Regions from separate parts of the Homo sapiens genome. Here region 2 is linked to region 1. Evidence: promoter capture Hi-C in 16 types of primary human blood cells and fetal thymus (Javierre and others, 2016). All regions are on one chromosome and are shown on one strand. Each heading gives the region's core, a stretch centred on a gene start or on the middle of the fragment in contact. The rest is flanking DNA. Distances are from core to core; before and after follow the strand shown.

Region 1 (2,700 bases), core at 197-2,696:
AAACGCTAGTTTTAAAGAGAACTGGACACTCAATCAAAATACTCCTGTCTCACTCCAGCACATACAAATGGTGTAGTTGAATGGTATATTGGAAATTATATCTATTGCAATTAAAATTGTGTGAGCAATTTGAAAGAAAAGAAAAAAAGAAACATCCCTTTCATCTTTCAGAGTGTATTTCCTTATGTGTCAAACTGGAATATTTCTATCTGTGGCCAGTTCCCCGGGATGCTGCTAGAAACACGTGAGACAGCGCGTTCATTTGCTCTACAAAAAGCGAATGAAGGCGCAGTTACCAGGCCAGTCAACCCAGGCTGTTTAAGGTCAACTACTGGGGGACTTCCACGTCACCTCGATATATACGTAACGCGTGTGTGCCGTAACCCGTGAACTATGGAATCCCTAACCGCGAATCACGTGGCTGCTGCCCCGCGGACGCCCTAGACGACGTGAGGGAAGGCGGTGCCGGGCGGGGCCTGTGCCAGGCTGGCGGGCCGCCGCAGACAGAGCTACCCGGAGCAACCGTTCAGGGGTGAGGCCGGAAGTCCCATCCGACCTCGCGGGCAGCCAGCGCTAGGCCGATTCGAACTCGACCTTGTTTTGGCGTTGCTAGGAGACGCGGCTCCTGCGCGCCCCCTACAGGCCGGCGCCCGGGCGGCGCGCGGGCAGGGGGCGGGGACTGTCGCGTGGAGCTGCCGGGCGAGCACCGTTAGGGCAGCCTGGCGCGCGGCGCCCGCCAGGCGCCCAGTCCTCTGCCATCGCCCACGCCTCCCTGGTGCCAGGGAACAGGTATCAGCGCGCCTCCCCAGCGGCTGGGAGAGACGCTGAATGAAGAAGAGGGAAGGACGGTTAGTCAGGTGAGCCGCGGCGGGGTGGGCGGCCGGGGCGGCCACGCCCTGCCGAGGGAGAAGAGCCGGTCGTGTGCGGAGGGACAGGGTGAAGGGATCCCACTTCGGGGAGGATGGGCTTATCCCGGCGGGCGCGCCAGGTGGGATCTCTAGCGCCTCAGGGGCCCGCGCGGCAACAGCCGGCACCCTCGGGCCCGCGGACAAAGGGTTAACGCGTTGGCAGTGACTGCGGGCCCCGGATGTGAGAGCCTTGGCTTGACGCCCTGGCTGCGCTGCAGGTGCGCCGGGCCGAACGGAGCCGGCAGCCTGGCGGCGACCTGACCGCCCGAGGCTCCCCTTCACCTGCAGCGGCTGCTCGGCTCCCTCTGGGAACGCCGCCTTTTCTAACTTAAGGGCAACAGGTGGTGCCGGTGGACCGAGAGAGAGCTCAGCTCCGCCGCGCTGGGAGCGGCAGTTACCCTCACCAATTAGGGAGCGGGGGCGGGAGTTGCATGGCTTCCCTGATGCGGGTGACCAATGGGATTTGGGATCATGAGTGGACCGGGAGGAGTGGGCGTGGTCGGAGTCTGAGTCCAAGGTTTCTCGTGCGGCAACTGCCAGAGCTGCTTGGAGAGCTAAGCTGGAAGGGTGCTTATCCCTGCGTAGAAACGCCTGCCAATGCTTTCTCATTTGGACCCAGACTCCAGATCGGGAGGTGAGAACGTTGTTATTTTGCAAGGGGTAGGAGGTAATAGTGATCTTGGGTATGCTGTTAAGCATGTGGAATTAGATTCCGAAGATAGGACTATCTGCTATGAGTTTTCTGCCAGATAGGCACTTTGTGGTTACGGCCACTTAGACCAGATACTGGTGACTGGGTTCTTTCCAGAATGAGGTCTTTGAGGTTTGGGGACCCAGGAGAAAAACGTACATATTACTGCAATTTAAGTAAACCAGATAATTTCAATCACTGTTATTCCATCGTTTGTCTTGGACTGTGTGTGTTTTCATGTACGTTTCATATCTCGTCTGGTTTGTTTAGCGCAGCAAGTTATAGTAAGTTCTTCGTGTTGTTTATTTTAGCAAAGTAGAGCAAACCTGTTTTAATGTATTATTTCGGGAGAATAACTTATTCCTTCTTCCGTCTCCCAGCAGTCTTATAGCTGGATCAGCTACCAAGAGAAGTTGTAAACCAAGAAGAGAAAAGCATTTCAATTTGGGACATTTATTTGCACCTGGAAATGGGGAATGGGCTGTCAGACCAGACTTCTATCCTGTCCAACCTGCCTTCATTTCAGTCTTTCCACATTGTTATTCTGGGTTTGGACTGTGCTGGAAAGACAACTGTCTTATACAGGCTGCAGTTCAATGAATTTGTAAATACCGTACCTACCAAAGGATTTAACACTGAGAAAATTAAGGTAACCTTGGGAAATTCTAAAACAGTCACTTTTCACTTCTGGGATGTAGGTGGTCAGGAGAAATTAAGGCCACTGTGGAAGTCATATACCAGATGCACAGATGGCATTGTATTTGTTGTGGACTCTGTTGATGTCGAAAGGATGGAAGAAGCCAAAACTGAACTTCACAAAATAACTAGGATATCAGAAAATCAGGGAGTCCCTGTACTTATAGTTGCTAACAAACAAGATTTGAGGAACTCATTGTCACTTTCAGAAATTGAGAAATTGTTAGCAATGGGTGAACTGAGCTCATCAACTCCTTGGCATTTGCAGCCTACCTGTGCAATCATAGGAGATGGCCTAAAGGAAGGACTTGAGAAACTACATGATATGATCATTAAAAGAAGAAAAATGTTGCGGCAACAGAAAAAGAAAAGATGAATATCAATACCTATTATATCTGTGTGGAG
Region 2 (2,700 bases), core at 116-2,615, 2.0 Mb after region 1:
TATGCCAGAAAATGTCTGAACAAATTAACTTCATGGCAAAGAGCTCATATAATTCTTTGCTAAGTAGTAAGGGGCGAAGGAATTTAGTTGCTTTTAATTGCCTATCAGAATTTAATAGAGTCGAGAAGTTAAAGGATCAAATCAAGTTTAATTAAACTTCGTTTCTAAAGATGACTTGCACGTAATGTCTTAAAATGTTCTCTGCAGTGTTTGTTTGCAATACATTTACCTCTCTGTGGTATGGTGGCAATATCAGTACTTACCTAGAAGGGCTGTTGTGAGGATTAAATAAGCTAACGTATTATAAGCAGACGAGCCCCTGGCATACAGAGTCAGAGTCATATAGTGTTGTTTGTGCTATTATTAATGGAAATTATATATAAGTTCCAAACATATTACCCTTGGTTGCTGGGAAAGCAAAGTACTTCCCATCTAATGGCGTCAAGATGGCAAACATGGTAAGAATTCTAATGAAGAAAGGAACTCACGTCTTTATATAATACAAAAATGTTAATCAATTTGGAAAAAAGAGAAATGCAGAGAGCATTGGAACAGAGATTGGAAAAGATGCAATGCATGAAATATTTGATTTGTTGGTAGAAGTATTGTCTGCCTAGACACTCTTGTGCTTGGTGTCTTCACTCAGGAAGTATTGTATTTGAAAATTAGATTATTTTTCTCCTCTTGCCTCTCAAGAGCTTGCTGATGAATTAGTAGAAATGTATCAATCATAAGAGAAATAAAACAATGACATTTGTTTCAGATGGGTGATGCTTTCCTTTTTGTACCTAATAAATCTCATGTTAAAGCCATCCTCTGACCGTGTCTCAAATCCCATGGGCCTCATAAAAAAATAAGATTGAACTGAGTGTAGAGCCTGAGTTAATTTGATAAAAACTTCTAGGGACGCTCCAGTCTTCCCTACTACTATTGTAATCAACCTCAAATGTTCATTTCTCTCTCTCTCTCTCTTTTTTTTTTTTTTTTTTTTTTTGAGATGGAGTCTCACTCTGTCGCCCAGGCTGGAGTGCTGTGGCGCAATCTGGGCTCATAGCAAGCTCCGCCTCCTGGGTTCACGCCATTCTCCTGCCTCAGCCTCCCGAGTAGCTGGGACTACAGGCGTCCGCCACTACGCCCGGCTGATTTTTTTTGTGTGTGTATTTTTAGTAGACACAGGGTTTCACCATGTTAGCCAGGTTGGCCTCAATCTCCTGACCTCATGATCCACCTGCCTCGGCCTCCCAAAGTGCTCGGATTACAGGCTTGAGCCACCGAGCCCGGCCCATTTCTCTTTATTTATATATGCAAACCTATGAGAAGCCTGCTGATGTGTACATTTGTTTACAATGAGAACTACTGAAGCCTTAGGCAAGATGACAAGGCAGTTCCCATGACAGCAGACATAATGTACAACTTTGTACCATTTCAGCTCCCTGGAATAGTAGCAGACTTATCAGTAACACACATGTCAAATAATGCTATAGTTTATTACTTGTATTCTCCATTCAATAATCTGACAAATACACTAGGTATTTGTTGTAGAAAGACTACTCAGCCACCAGCTTTCCCCTTCCTCCTAGCATCCTGATGTCCTTTTTCTCAAATCTACAAACACACCCCCCAACACACACACCAAAAATGCTTTTGTTGAGAAGTGTTAGTGCCCGCTGTTTAGAAACCTGAATGGAGGCCGGGCGCGGTGGCTCACGCCTGTAATCCCAGCACTTTGGGAGGCCGAGGCGGGTGGATCAGGAGGTCAGGAGATCGAGACCATCCTGGCTAACACGGTGAAACCCCGTCTCTACTAAAAATACAAAAAAAATTAGCCGGGCGCGGTGGCGGGCGCCTGTAGTCCCAGCTACTCGGGAGGCTGAGGCAGGAGAATGGAGTGAACCCGGGAGGCGGAGCTTGCAGTGAGCCGAGATTGCGCCACTGCAGTCCGCAGTCCGGCCTGGGCGACAGAGCGAGACTCCGTCTCAAAAAAAAAAAAAAAAAAAAAAAAAAAAAAAAGAAACCTGAATGGAAAAACAAATCCCCCTCCCACTCTCCATCTAATAACAAGCTGGCTTGATTGACAGATGACTAATCTGCACAGGTAGAAAGGTGAGTAGGAGAGGAGAAAGCTGTTGTCGATTACAAGGGCAACAGAAATAATCAGAAATTCCTGGCTTTCAGTGAAAATATTAAGGTGAGTCAAACAATAAATTAAATACATGTTACCATCTACTTTATTATTCCACATACAAATGACAACCTGTTAATGACATCTGCCACTCACTAGAAGCACAGCATATGCATTTCCCAATAGCTGCTTTAAAACTGGAAAAATCCTAATCCCAGTAAGACAGGAAAATGCTATCAGAGTTCTTGCAGCATATACTCATGCCATTATCCTGTTGTTTACCGCATAGATGTGAACAGAGGTTAAATATACACTTCTTGAATTTGCATAAAATGTAAAATCATTTAAATAAAATTTATTTGCATTGCTTTATTCATATACACTTTGCTAAAGGTTTTAAAAATAATATAAACTCAATATCTCTTATCAACTTTCCCCAAAATATTTTTTGTGGCCAAAGTTATGGTTTCAAGTCAAGTATATTTTAATATGTATTTTAATAATGTTGAAATTTTGATGTTTATTCAAAATAAGAATTCTATATTCTTAAAAGCATTTTTAGATACTCTTTCTCTAAA

Evidence for each region. The method cuts DNA at HindIII sites, captures the fragments that hold promoters and counts their contacts. A CHiCAGO score of 5 or more calls a contact.
Region 2: a contact is called between a fragment that was not itself captured here and the fragment with the promoter of ARL4A in region 1, in 1 of 17 cell types (M1 macrophages). The highest score is 5.1, in M1 macrophages.

The regions. Positions count from the first base shown.
Region 1 is chr7:12,686,187-12,688,886 of GRCh38, forward strand. It overlaps ARL4A (ARF like GTPase 4A), which reads left to right and starts at 1,447. Exons shown (of 2, transcript NM_005738.5): 1 at 1,447-1,542; 2 at 1,980-2,700. The coding sequence starts at 2,069. The coding sequence ends at 2,671. It also overlaps the pseudogene LOC100505995. RefSeq lists silencers at 482-761, 962-1,011 and an enhancer at 956-1,492. The HindIII fragment of the contact is 3,768 bases long and covers 1-2,700 here.
Region 2 is chr7:14,694,524-14,697,223 of GRCh38, forward strand. All of the region lies in intron 8 of DGKB (diacylglycerol kinase beta), which reads right to left. Among named protein-coding and RNA genes, the nearest start is that of DGKB, 210 kb to the right of the region's middle. The HindIII fragment of the contact is 6,153 bases long and covers 1-2,700 here.